4 separate regions of the Homo sapiens genome follow, and regions 1, 2 and 3 are each linked to region 4. Evidence: promoter capture Hi-C in 16 types of primary human blood cells and fetal thymus (Javierre and others, 2016). All regions are on one chromosome and are shown on one strand. The core of a region is centred on a gene start or on the middle of the fragment in contact, and the rest is flanking DNA. Distances in the headings are between cores, read along the strand shown.

Region 1 (3,542 bases), core at 298-2,797, 1.8 Mb after region 4:
GAAGAACAAAGAGCAAATATCAAGCCACAGAAATGTTGAGAAATAATGTCTTGAACGAATGTAGCTTTTCTTTTTGTGTATTACGAAATCTTTTCTACATTTAAAGACTTTCAGTGGTAAGCTTCTAAAAGGCAGGGACAAGACTAGAAGAATTTTGTACTCTAGCCAGAATACTGTAATTTACACATGGGCATTTATTAATTAATTACTGTTAGATATAAATGTAACAGTCCGTATGAGATTCTAGAAGACAGTAATGAACTTCTGCAACATAGTTCAGTGCTCTCTAGCCACAAAATTATACCGATATTTTAAACCGGTGAAATTTGAATAGAATAGTTGAAATTAGTAAATTATTAAAATAAGTTGCCAAGCTACTGAATATCAAAGTATAATAAATTACAATACTCTATTAAGAAACAAAATTGCCTACTCAGTTGCTTCATGAATTTAATATGGGTATGCTGAGTACTCTCAGTAAATAATGTTGTCATTGCATATTTTATACAAAAAGAGGTACAGAAACCAATATTTTCAAAACTTGAGATACTTTGCAATATGCAGGCTTAAAAAATACTAACTTGTCATATCAGCTTTTGTAGAAAAAAATACGAATAAGATTATGGTTGCCTTTAGTTTCTCTGATCTCATAAACACTCTGCTAGACCCCAAATGCTTTCCTGAATTTGTCCTTCTTGTCGGGTTTTGATATTTGTATATATGTTTATCCTCTCTATAAGCAATAGAGAGTATTTTACGTGTTTTATAATTTATAAAAATGATTTCTTAGTTACATATCCTTCAACTTGCTTTTCTCACTCAACATTAATTTGAGGAATATCAATATTGATACGTGTAACTCTGGTTCATTCATTTTAGATTCTTTATAGTATTTCAATTATCTCATCATTTGTTTCTTCAGTTAATTAAATATTTATTGAGCACCTACTACATTCCAGGCATTCTTCTAGGTGATGAAGACTTAACAGCCAACAAAATAGAAAAAGTGGCTGCTATTGGAAAGCTTACTTCTTAGGGAGTGGATTCCAACGGATGCATCTGTTCTTCTGTGGATGCTTTCAAGTTTTTATCATTACAAACAGTGCTACTGCAAACAACCCTAAACACAATCACTTGTGTATTATTTAAGAGGGGAAATAAAAGAAGTGGGATACGGGGTTTGTCCCTGAGGCCAACTTGTTATGTAAAGTGAGTAAGCTAAATTTACATGCCCATCCGGGATATAAGGGAACTCCCATCTATTCATATTCCCCCAACAGGGGTCTTGTTAAACTTCTGAACTTTCGCCTCCAGATGGGTCTGTAATGGTACTTCAGTGGCATTTGCATTTTGTTGATTCTAGGTGAGGTTGAGCATTCACTGTGTAATGACGGTCTCTTCATTTCTCATGGCTTATCTGTTTGTATTTATTGTCTATTTGTATATTAAGTTAGCTGTCTTTTTCATATTGATTTTCAGATGTTTTATGTGCTCTGGAAATTAATTTGTTATTGCCCATATGGGTTGCTTTTGTCTCTGTGTGTGGCTTATATTTTTTCCTTTTTAAAAACATACTGTTGTCCTGCAAAAGGTATTTCATTTCAATGCAATGATAGTTACTAATATTGTTGGTTAGGAGTCTGTATTCTTCATTTTTAAGGAAATTATCACTTACCTCAATGTCATAAGACATTCTGCTCTATTTTCTAAATGTATTAAAATTTGATTTTTAATATTTATGTCTTTAACTCATCAAAAATATAACTTATATTTGAAAAAAGGGGCTAGGTTTATTTCATTTTTCCATATGTGTAACTATGTTAGTTACTATGACGGTAGTTAGTACGAATGTTCATTACTCCTCTAGTTCTCTTCTCTCTGGGCCCACGAGAGGATAGGAGTGCTCTTTGGAACTGGATGTGTCCACGTGGCTCGCTTTGACCAATGGACTATGAGCAGAAGGATGTGTGTATACATTTAATGTAATGAGACTGGATCCAGAAAATAAGTAGAGAATTGGCTTTCTGCCTAGGTTCCCTCTGAGCAAATTTATAAAGTGGGTGAAGCTTTTTTGGATGTACCCGTATCGTTCTTCTGTCTCTGTCATCTACTGCCTATCCGCTTGTTATCAGGTACTCTCTCAAGGTAGCGTATTATTAAAGCACTGTCTATATTGACAAGACTTCATCCTCTGCACTTATCTCTTCACCCTCCACCCAAAAGCAAAGTATAGTAAAACAAACCTATCCTAAAATCCACTCTCCAAAGAACGCTACAGTCTCCCAGTTATAACTATTGGATAGGAAAATTACTAAGAAATTCACTGCTTCCTTTTTTCCAGCAGTGAGGTCATAGTGACAAGATATTTGCATTCTTATAGGGAATAATAAGGCTTCAAAAATCCACAGAAATGAATTTCAAAAGATTTGAATTTAAGCAGACTTTGTTTTAAAAAAACAGTCCTACCGCTTACTAGCTGTGTGACTTTGGACAAGCTTCTCAACCACTCTATACCTCAGCATTCTCATCTTTGCAACAGAGATAATAATACCTAGATTACAGTGTTGATACGAGAATTAAAATCAATTGTGTCCATACTGAATGCTTCGTAGAGTGCCTGGCACATAGTAAGTACTCATAAATGAGGCTATATGTATTATGATGTTATTGTTGCTCTTACAATTGTAATAGTGATTGTGCTATGCCTTGAGGTTAGGAGAACAGAAGTTTTAGGGTAGAGTGCTTTCCTGATATCACAAGACATTCCTAATAGCACAAGAGGCAGGCAGCTTTCTGCTTTGTCCATTGAGAAAAATTGCTTATTTGAGTATTATCTTTTTTGAGGCTTCAGAGGTAATACAAGGAGTTAAGGAATTGGCTATATATATATACACGTATATATATATATATATATATATATATGGATATATTTTTGAGACAGGGTCTCACTCTGTTGCCCAGGCTGGAGTGCAGTGGCCCAATCCTAGTTCCCTGTAGCCTCAAACTTCTGGGCTCAAGCAATCCTCCTGCCTCAGCCTCCTGAGTAGCTAGGACTACAGGTGCAGACCATCAGGCTTGACATATTCTTCAAACATTTCATTATTTTTGGAGATAGGGTCTTGCTATGTTGCCCAGGCTAATCTCAAACTCGCAAAGTGCTGGGATTACAAAAGTGAGCCACTGGGCCCCGTCCTGGTTATTTATTAAAAGTAATTATTGCTAATTAACCTGGCAAAAGTATATTATTTTTAAAGAAATAGAGATATTTGCCAACAAGTAACATTTTCACCATCTTTTCATTCTTCTTCTACATTGATAACTAAGTCAAAAATAATCTGCTAAACTTCTGGAAAACTTTGTACCATTCTACCTTGGAAAAAAAGGTTTCCTTTCATAGGTCCATTTCATATCTTCCAAAAAAGATGAACCTAGCTAGAGTTTTACATAATAAGAGGTGAAACGTGTAAGTTTTCATGAAAGTAATGAAATATTTTAGATTCTGATTTTATGTCACCTAAAAGGTTTTTTTTAAATCTCTCTCA
Region 2 (3,488 bases), core at 392-2,891, 1.8 Mb after region 4:
CAAATCTAGTCAAGTCGGAAGAGAGAGGCTGTCCTTCTCTGTGACTGTTTGGCCCCTCCTTGGAAACGGGTGTATTCAGAATCTCCCACATGCCTGTGAGTACGATTTTAGGTTTGCCCCTCCCCAGTTTCTGCTTTTAGGTTGTATAGGACTCCACAGAGTTTCACACTTTACACATATTTTCTAATTTCCACTTTTACTTTTATAAATGATTCCCTGGAAGTTTGTCCCCACACCAGTTCATTTCCCTTTCCTTCTTTTTATTACACTTAGCCTTTGTATTTTCCCAGAAGAAAGGCTCCAAATAAATTATTTCTACCTATACTCCTTTAATTTTGAACAAAGTTGCTTAAATGAATGTGGGCATGCCTGTTCCAATTAATCAGCTGGGCTCAGGCAAAGGGAGGCCAGGTTCTTGCTGTGTATTTCCCTCAGCATTAGGTCAAGAGCAAGACATACCTACTACGTAATCACAAAAATTAAAAAAAAATTAAAAAGAGCAGCTGTGACTTTCTGTCCGTTGGTTGGTTCTTCTCTTGACCACTGTCTGGAAAGACATCATCTGCTTTTAGATTGGGCTACATGCACTGTGAGAGAGTCTTTATAATGATTACTCTCTCTCTGCCTCCCTTTGGCTACACACACAAATTTTAGGGCAACACTGAAATAGGCATTGCTTATTGTCTTTCCAACCTACACTGTCAGAAAAAATGAGGTCAGCCAAGATGAGGAAAGTGGTATGATCCAAGATCCAACATTATTAGGTCCTCAGTTTTTGTTATTTTGGAGATAAACTAATGCATATATTAGAGAAATAAGCAAAAGATTTAAGGCCTATGGAAATCAATTGAGTCAAGAGAGATGTTTTTGGAATTGTCTCTTTCTCAGGTGAGGGAAGACAAATTACGATTTCTTCTGTGGCTTTTGAGAGTCTCACGATACTTTTGGCTCTCAGAGTTCTACTAAAAACTTGGTTAACATGACCATCAGTTTTTCTAAAATGCACACACACACATACACACACTCTTAATAAACACTTATTATAGTTGTAATGGAAGGGCCTTTTAAACGAATTAACACCATTTTATTGAGGTACTTAATAATAGGTAAGACCTGTATTTTAAGATTCTGCTCCCAAATGAAGGCACCCTGCCAGGTGATGTAGCAGATAAGATGTGGACAGTATGTCAAGGCCCACATGACACTAATGGGGCAATACATCCGATAGGATATGGTTTGGCTTTGTGTCCCCACGCAAATCTCATCTCGAATTGTAATCCCCAGGTGTTAAGGGAAAGACCTGGTGGGTGGTTGTTGCGGGAAGTCAGGGAACCCGAACAGAGGGAATGGCTGAAACCATGGCAGAAGAACATAAATTGTGAAGATTTCATGGACATTTGTTAGTTCCCCAAATTAATACTTTTATAATTTCTTACTCCTGTCTTTAATCTCTTAATCCTGTCATCCTTATAAGCTGAGGATGTATGTCACCTCAGAACCCTGTGATGATTGTGTTATCTGTACAAATTGTTTGTGAAGCCTGTGTGTTTGAACAATATGAAATCTGGGCACCTTGAACAGGATAACAGCGATTTTCAGGGAGCAAGGGAGATAACCATAAAGTCTGACTGCCTGCTAGGCCGGGCAGAACAGAGTCATATTTCTCTTCTTTCAGAAAGCAAATAGGAGAAATATCACTGAATTCTTTTCTCAGCAAAGAATAACCCTGGGAAAACGAATGCATTCCCAGGGGGAGGTCTCTAAAATGGCCGCTCTGGGAGTGTCTGTCTTATGTCTTATGCAGTTATAGATAAGGGGTGAAATACACCCTGGTCTCCTGCAGCGCTCCCAGGCTTATTAGGATTAGGACATTCCAGCCTGGCGAATTCTAGTCAGACCGATTGTCTGCTCTCGAACCCTGTTTCCTGTTAAGATGTTTGTCAATGACAATGTGTGCCCAGAAGGACATGGACCTTCATCAGTAATTCTAGTTTCACCCTGGCCTTGTGATCTCACTCTGCCTCTCTGCCCTTGTGATATCGTATTGCCTTTGAAGCACGTGATCTCTGTGACCCACACCCTATTCGTACACCCCCTCCCCTTTTTGAGACCCGTAATAAAAACTTGCTGGTTTTGCAGCTCAGGGGGTCATCACGGAACCTGCCGACATGTGACGTCACCCCCGGAGACACAGCTGTAAAATTTCTTGCTTTTGTACTCTTTATTTCTCAGACCAGCCGACACTTAGGGAAAATAGAAAAGAACCTATGTTGAAATACTGGGGGCTGGTTCCCCAGATAGGTGGTGATTAGATCATAGGGACAGTTTCCCCTGTTGCGAAAAGCTGAGTGTTGGGAGAAGCTGAGGCAGGGCTTGCATGTCTGACGTAATGTAAAAGAGTCTTAGAACATGTCCGGGGTCCAGGGTCTTAAACCCCTTGTGGCCTTTGGAACACCAAACTCTGTGCTAAAGGGTGGAAGTCTACCCTGACGCACCATAATCTAAGCCCAGGGCAGAAAACCCCTCGTGGCTTGGATGAAATCCCAGGCTCCTGGCTCTGGAATGTGTCTAGACTTGCTGGCTCCTTGCTTCTAGCCCTCCCAGGCTCCTAGATTGATTGTGTCTTACAGTTGGCCATATAAATGCTAAACCATCACAGCTGTAAATCATGTGATTAATGCAATGCTCCCTTTCGACCCCCCACATTCTCTCCACCTGTTTCATTGTTTGATCAGTAATAAATAGTCCGGGCTTCCAGAACTCAGGGACTTCTCAGCCTCCATACTTAGCGATGGCCCCCTGATCCCACTTTCTCTCTCAAACTGTCTTTTCTCATTCCTTTGACTCCACCTGACTTTGTTGCCCCCATGACCTGATGTTGGGTCCAATTACCCCAGCATTCCCCCATGCTGTTCTCATGAGAGTGAGTGAATTCTCATGAGATGTGATGGTTTTGTAAGGGGCTCTTCCCCCTTTGCTCCCGCTGTCTTTCCTGCCGCCTTGTGAAGAAAGTGCCTGCTTCTCCTTCCACCGTGACTATCCTTCCCAGCCATGGGAAACTGTGAGTCAATTAAATCTCCTTTGTTTATAAATTACCCAGTCTTGGGTAGTATTTTTTATAGCAGTGTGAAAACAGACTAATATGCTGCAGTTCCAATTTTCTGTGCAAAATGGTCCACAGAAGATATTGGTGAGTAAGGTGGGCTATGTTACCCTTGGGAGGCTGTGGAGATGGATTAGGATGGGTGGAGGGAATAAAGGAGACTGCTTCAGCTGTGTGGGTGTGTGGGCTGTGTAGGGATCACAGGCATAAGGTCAAAGAACTGAAATGGAACATGGGCTGTGCAGAGAACGGTGAGTAAGGGTTTGAACAAGTCATGTTAAATAGCATGCGATGTGTAAACATGTCACCACCTCCTTCAACTCACACCAGAAAAACACACTCCTGAATGCCCAGCAGAAGGGTCTCCTAAGCTATGGAAGGAGTA
Region 3 (3,468 bases), core at 53-2,552, 1.8 Mb after region 4:
AAACTGCAAGCAGGAAGACACTCTTCCCTGCCAAAGGGGGTTTCAAACCCCTCATTAATAGAGTCCACAGCAGACTCGGCCAGCAGGAGAAGAAAAGGCAGCCACCAGCGTGGAGGATGCCGTGCCCAGGCCTGACACCCAGATTAGAGCACTGGACCACAGCACACAGCAGCTGCTGATAAGGTTAACAAGCAAATCTTTAGCGTTCGCAGCCTCTCCTCTAAATAAACCCATATGCAGAGATTTCAGTGTCCTGAATCAAGAAGTGGTCAGTTCAGTGCAGATCTCAGATTGAAACAAGGCTCCAGAGAAGTTCTCCAGTGAATGCTTCCTAAGGAGGGAGGGGGGCTGATAACATAACCCTGGGATGTCCTTTTACTTCTGTGGGTATGGATTCCTCGGATAAATGCTATGGACTCACTTATTATTAACAACAACAACAAAACAAAAACAAAAACAAGAAAAACTTTATTTGGGGAATAAAGTTTATGAGTTAAAAAATCTCTGTAAGCATTCTGTACAAATTCCTAGATGGCATAGTAGTCCTACTTCATTTATTATATCAAGTTTATTTTTCCCAGAATCTTCAAAACTACATGGGCGGAAGTTTTTCTGAGTATCCTCTTCCAGATCAGTACATTCCAAGCTTTAATGTGCCCCCGAATCACCTGGGGGCATTGTGAAAATACGGCTTCTGATTCAGAGGATCTGGGTGGGTCTTAGATTCTGAATTTTTAACCCGCTCCTAGGCGACGCAGAATCTTCTAGTCCATGGACCAACGTTGAGTCGCAAGGCTTTAGGTTACAAAATCTCGTACACAACTACAAAAAGTAGTGATGCTGATCATAACTTCACAGAAACCCTTACTATACCCGGGAACCACTCCTCCCAAGTCAGGTAAGGGCACTCAACATTAGTTGGCATTTTTTTGTGGGGGGTGAGGAGAGCGGGAATTCCCTCTCCCATACTCTGAGGCTAACTAGTAAGGTAATAACACCTTCACAGGGTTTTTGTTCAGACTGACTGGCTGTGTGTTTTTGCCCTTTTAAAATAAATGTTGATATCTTTGGTCTGGAGGAAACAAAGGAAGTCACGTGACTTGGAATTCCTGGTGGTGTCTTGAAGATGGCTGTTCTGTTTCTCAAGCGAGGAGGAGGAGAATAACATATGGATATATTGCGGGCCGCCCGTGCCATCTTCTGAATTGCCAGACCACGTTGTAAGGTGCAGCAGATGGCCGGAGCAGCGGGACGTGCCAAATGCTGCACTCCAGAGCCCTTCCGCAAGGTGCTTGCTCTGGGAGCAGTAGCAGAGCTCAAGAATATGCTTACGGCCCTTCACAAAGACAAATTATCTGGTAGCTCTTCAGATGGTGCTAGCAAAATCATCTCATTGGGTGGATGATTTACCTCCGCTATGCACTGGCAATTCAACACTGTATTAGGAAAGGGAAAAAATAACTTATTAAAGGTTTTCAAAATATAAACTTTTCTTTCGCAGAACTTGGGCAAAAAGTGCTGATCTCTGATGAGTTCATTCCTTGCAACAACAGAGGAAATGAGCTCAATTTCCTGTCGTGGATGAAGCCCTCACCTCCTCTCCTGCCTCCTCTCCCTCTGACGTCCTCTAGGCCCTTCTGCTTTGGACAGCATGGTAGTGCCCTTCCATCTTGACCTGCCTTTCTGGCCACCATGTTTTTCCTCTGAGGTTTTGTGCCTTCCCACAATGCTCTGCCCTACCTGGTTGTTTAAATTTGACTCATTCTTGAAGACACACTCATATTCTAGCTCCGCCTAATGGTCTTTCCAACCTAAAGTAATACTGCCTTCCTCCACACTTGTCAGATCCCATCATTTGACAGGCAAGAGTGTCTCTTTGTGACAGTTCTTAATTTTATTGTCCTTCTGTAACTTCTCAAATGGATATGAGTTCTCTCTTCATTTAGCTGATAAGCTTCTTTAAAGCGACAAATATTCTTAGAATTTTCAAAAGCATGGCAGTCGATAAATACCTTCTTACTTAGGTTTTGAAGTGAAACACAAGGCAGGTATAGACCGTGGCCTTCCTCTCAAGGCCCAGGGCCCCTGAGCCCTGTGTTCAGAACTTCAGTGCTCATGAACACAACACCAAAGACAGGAGCAGGGATGCCAAGACTGAGGCCCCATTTCTCTTTCCTCCCAGCAATGGGTTGAGGACAACCCTTTCTCCTTCTATAGTAGCTGTCCTGCCGGTTTGCTTCTTGGGCTCCATGGATTGGAGTAGGTGGAGTGGGGGTAGCCATGCTTATGCCTGAGGGTAGCTGATGCTGTTATTTCCCGTGTCTTATTCTCCCATCATTACTCAGGAGACTTCTTATCCTAGGAACTCCAGGACCTGAGTCTGGATTTGTGTAGCACACACTGGATTCAAAAATATATTGTTAGTTGTCATAATAATGTTACAGAAAGCCATTATTTTGTTTTGAATCAAATTTGAAATCCTTCCTTGGAAGGAGCCCCCACTCAGTTCAAGCCAATTGGCTTAATATCTCCATCACCTAGTCATTCCACACAAGCCTTTTCCAAACTGTGCCATATTCTTGGAATGCTCTCTCTTTCTGTCTGCCAAGCTATCTCTCTTCTAGCATCCAAATAGCTCATGAAATCCCAGCTCCTGTACACAGTCTTCCAGAACTATTTGGAAAAGGTCTAATAGCTTCCCTCTGCACCATCGGGTGTGAGCATTAGCCACTTAAGGCTCTCTCACTCCTCACTGCTCTGCTAATGCACTTGTTCTTGAAATGGACAGCAAGTTACATTAACCAATGTTTTGCATTGCTCAATTGTCTGCATTTTTTGCCCTTATATAGATTGTCTTTATATTCAGATTTGTTTAGGCTCATGGTCTACTTTTGACAGATTCTACGGAAATAAGACTATAACTAAATCTCTTCTTACAGTGCTGAGTGCTGAGTGTAATATCATGTAGACACAGATACTTAATGCATAAGGAGATTTCTCAGATTTGACTTTTTAATGTACAAAGAATATGGAACATATTTAATATTTCACAAGTCCACCAGGACCTGCCAGAGACCTCTGTTAGCCTTGGGCAAGGATGGCAATTTCCATGGGGGTTCATTTCTCAGTTGGCTGCGCAGTAGCTGCCATTGGTAGTAATTGTAGGCAGTGCAAAGGGGAATTAATAGGATGTCTTCAGCGCTGAGGGACAAGATCAGGAAAGGTCATTCTCTGAGAGGGAAATCTAGTAGGAGCATAGCATGGCTTAGAGTAGTAAGCTACGAGAGCTTCCCTTCCGTTAGAGAAGGCTGAAGAAAGCAGTGCTAGGAACAACTGGGAAACCACCTTCGACTTGGCAAGTGCCTGGCACAGAGTGGGTGCTCACCGTGGATTTGTCAAATGCAAAAAGGAAGCAGCTATTTCAAGAACAGCAATGTAAGCTACAACCTAATTGTTGCATTCCAGCCT
Region 4 (3,293 bases), core at 540-3,039:
TTCCTGTATTATGAATGATGTCATCTTTAAGATGAGGGACTTTCAGTGAAATGCGGGAACATTCAGGGTAATGTGTTTTCAGCAAGCAGGAGCTTGAATTTATGGCAGAGGGGAGTGTGTGAGTTGACCAAAATGGAGAGTGATGAGAAGTAACTAAATTATGTATGACAGTCTTTACCGAGCAGAGGAAGGAAGAAAGCTTAATGATGTTGTGGTTGAAGGAGCAGCAGCAATTGGTGATGTATGGGTTGTAGGTTGGTAAGAAGAGAAATGGATCTATGAAGACCCAAAGACTGTAGATGAGTGTGACAAAGACCAAGCGGTGGATTTGGGAGGAGGAGGGAAACCAGGGGCTCGGGATATATGACACATTTTAGCGGCAACAAGACAGCCATGTAAAGTCAACTTGAAATTAAAAATCATCATCTTAATCTATGTGGCTCTTTCAAGCCTGAGTCTTATCAAGGCAAAAAAAAAAAAAAAAAAATCTATAGTTAACGATGAAGTATTTCTCCCTTTTGCTTTCCCGGCATCCACCAAGAGCAGTACATAATTTAATTATTGAATCTACAAGCTGGACCATGAGATGAAGAATGATGTGTCTGCTGTAGTGAGAAATTAGATAGAACCAACTGTTTACTCTCATCATTCTTCCTCCGTTAGGCTAAATTAATATAGTTAACAAGCTTTTGTTTGGAATAGCAGTTCAAATCTGGGATGTGCAGATCAGAACTGGCGATTATTACAGTAGCTGTTATTTATGGAGTGCTGACAGTCCCCTCAAGTCCCATGAATGAAACAGAAAGGGGTTCTTCTGTCATTCTCTGTGCTAGAACCACTGTAAGGGGCTAGACGTCTGCACAGGGTAACGAAGTTCATGAAAACCAGATTAAGTTGCTTGGGGCATACGACTCCAGAAATGTCACTGATGGTCTTTCCTATTGCCCTGTTTTTCTCATCTTTGAAACAACTGCAACAAAATGTGCACTATATAAGTGGGCGAGCATTACCAGGAGGTAACATGCAGGTGGGGTGCCTGTGCGGTGATACGGGTCGAGCAGGGCGCGGCAGGCTTTAGCAAACACCTCAGGCCCTTCCGCACAATTTGAGCAGAAACTGAAAGCCTGTCAGGCGCAGCCAAATGCAAATCTAGCTTCGAGGCACTGAGCCTCGAGGCACAGCGCCCCCGCCGGACCCAGTTCCCTGCCCCATCCAGTGTGTGAAACTGTGACCCAGCCACCGGCCAAGGGTCCCCACGGGGACGCTGCGACACAGCGGGCTCACTCCAGAGACCCAAACCAGGTCTCCCCACCTCCCGCCCCGCCAGTTTCACGGCACTAGATTCTTGGGGTCGTCTTTTAATCACAATCTCCATAGCCGTGTCTCTAAGCAGTTGATGGAACACGGATGGTGGGGAAAACCTCACCACCGCCACCACCACCAAACCAAGCAGCCCCCGACGGTCGTGCAGTCAGGCCCGGGAGCGCCCAACTCGCGGCCACCCAGCGCCACGCGTGACCCGGGCAGCGGGGCGACCTCGGGGCGGTCTGGCACCCGGGAAGTAGTTTGTGCTCGGGCTCTGAACACCGCCGGCCGGACCGCGGGCTGCGTCACGGGGACCGGGAGGCGTACGGCGACGCGGAGCAGCGCCTTTGCGGCGTGCGACCCGCCCCCGCCGTCCCTCCCTCCCTCCCCTCAGGGCTTCGGGCCCCCGGGGCCAGCCGCCGTCCTGCGAACGCGCGGCGCCCGGGCCGCTGCCCCCTTCCGGCCCCGCGGCGGCCCCGCCTCCTCCCCCGACTTCCTTCCCTGAGCACGGCGGCGGCGGGGACGAGCACCGGCCTGCGCGCGGAGCCGGCACCGGATGGTGGGCGGGGGCCAGCCGTGCGGGTACGCGGCCCGCGCGCCCCTAGCCACCGCCGCGTGGCACCGTCCCGAGCGCGTGGCGCGGGGCGCTGGCTGCCGGGCGGGGGCCTGGGGCCGCGGACGCTGGGGGCGCCTCGGCCGCGCTCAGCCTTTAGATCGGAGAATGCGGGCGGGGTGGGGGCGCTCGGGGTCCCCGCAGTCACTCCAGGGTCGATTTCTCGGCGGGCGCCGCGGCCTGTGCGAGGCCGGGCCCCTTGGAGTGCCCCGGGAGGTGGTGCTGGGCGTCTGAACACCACATCCCTTCCTGCGCCCGTGTGTGGGTTGGGAATGCCGGGTGTAGGCCCTGGATCAGAGCTGACGGGGTTGCGAGCGGCGTGGGGTGTGCCTGGGACGGTGACCGGATGTGTCTTCCTGAATCGTTGTATTCGAGCTCCAGTTCTCTCTGTTTCTACAGCTGGGCCTCAGTCCTCACAGGGCTCTAGTGGGCGTTCAGCCACACCAGGAGAAGGCGCCCAGGGGATTAACAGGACCCTTCCCTCTCCTGCTCTTCCCTCGCCCCCCATGGCTCCCCCTCCCTCCTATTTAGTAGGTACTTCTCCAGCACCCCACAGCGATGATGGATGCTGGCCCTAAAGCCAGGTGGGAAACCAGGCTGATTCAGCACCTGTCTTTTCCTGTTAGGGGGGTTGCCAGGCCTCTCAGATGTGGGGCAGCGTAATCAGTGGGTGACCGTGGTTCCCAGCACCCACTCTCCACTGCATCCTTGTCTTAGGCACTGCCGCCCTGCACTGTAGCAGATGCCTAAATAAAGTGTGGAGCCTGAAGCAGAAGTTTTGGGAGATGCTTGCCTTCCTTTAGACCACATTCCTCGCCTTTCTCAAGATTTCTCCGTGGTACCCACCCCGTTTTTGTGTTGTCTTCCTTCCTTGCCCTTGTTTCATTCCTTTTGAAAGCGACCACTCCCCTGAAGTCCTAGGACCCCCTTCGTGGGCTCTCCCTGCCGTAGACAGTCTCTGCTTGCCCCTGGTAAACTACGTTCCAAAAACCTTGCTTTAGGAGTAGCACTTGACGTTTTTCATAGTTTCTTCTCATGTAATTCATTACTCGGAGTTGATAACTTCTGTCCCATCTGGATTATTGAGGAGAAAGGGAAGGGAAAAATTATCTGGTTAATATCAGAGTTGGGAAGGCTTCAGATGTTTTCTTTGAATCCGTCTGGCATGGATGATAATCCTGTGTGGTTTAGGTTAAGTTACCTAAGTTCTCTGAGTCTGTGTAAGATGGGATGGCACTGTCTACCTTAGCTAGGAGTAAGGCTTGAGTGACATGATGTGTATAAACTTTAACAATGTCTGGAATCTATAGATGATCAATAAATATTTCTTTTTTCCACCCTCCTCCTGTGCTGACTCCGCTTTGTAAGGGAGACA

What was found. The method cuts DNA at HindIII sites, captures the fragments that hold promoters and counts their contacts. A CHiCAGO score of 5 or more calls a contact.
Region 1: a contact is called between a fragment that was not itself captured here and the fragment with the promoter of DCTD in region 4, in 1 of 17 cell types (endothelial precursors). The highest score is 5.9, in endothelial precursors.
Region 2: a fragment that was not itself captured here is called in contact with the fragment with the promoter of DCTD in region 4 in 1 of 17 cell types (endothelial precursors); the score reaches 6.4 in endothelial precursors.
Region 3: a fragment that was not itself captured here is called in contact with the fragment with the promoter of DCTD in region 4 in 4 of 17 cell types (endothelial precursors, naive B cells, total B cells and 1 more); the score reaches 14.6 in endothelial precursors.

Annotation. Positions count from the first base shown.
Region 1 is chr4:181,164,641-181,168,182 of GRCh38, reverse strand. No RefSeq gene overlaps it. Among named protein-coding and RNA genes, the nearest start is that of LINC00290, 7.3 kb to the right of the region's middle. RefSeq lists an enhancer at 741-1,572. The HindIII fragment of the contact is 1,042 bases long and covers 1,027-2,068 here.
Region 2 is chr4:181,128,842-181,132,329 of GRCh38, reverse strand. All of the region lies in intron 2 of LINC00290 (long intergenic non-protein coding RNA 290), which reads left to right. Among named protein-coding and RNA genes, the nearest start is that of LINC00290, 29 kb to the left of the region's middle. The HindIII fragment of the contact is 5,707 bases long and covers 1-3,488 here.
Region 3 is chr4:181,145,384-181,148,851 of GRCh38, reverse strand. The region is part of intron 2 of LINC00290 (long intergenic non-protein coding RNA 290); the gene reads left to right. Among named protein-coding and RNA genes, the nearest start is that of LINC00290, 12 kb to the left of the region's middle. RefSeq lists an enhancer at 852-2,051. The HindIII fragment of the contact is 1,308 bases long and covers 649-1,956 here.
Region 4 is chr4:182,915,882-182,919,174 of GRCh38, reverse strand. It overlaps DCTD (dCMP deaminase), which reads left to right and starts at 1,789. Exons shown (of 6, transcript NM_001921.3): 1 at 1,789-1,864. RefSeq lists a silencer at 1,448-2,157. The HindIII fragment of the contact is 3,169 bases long and covers 689-3,293 here.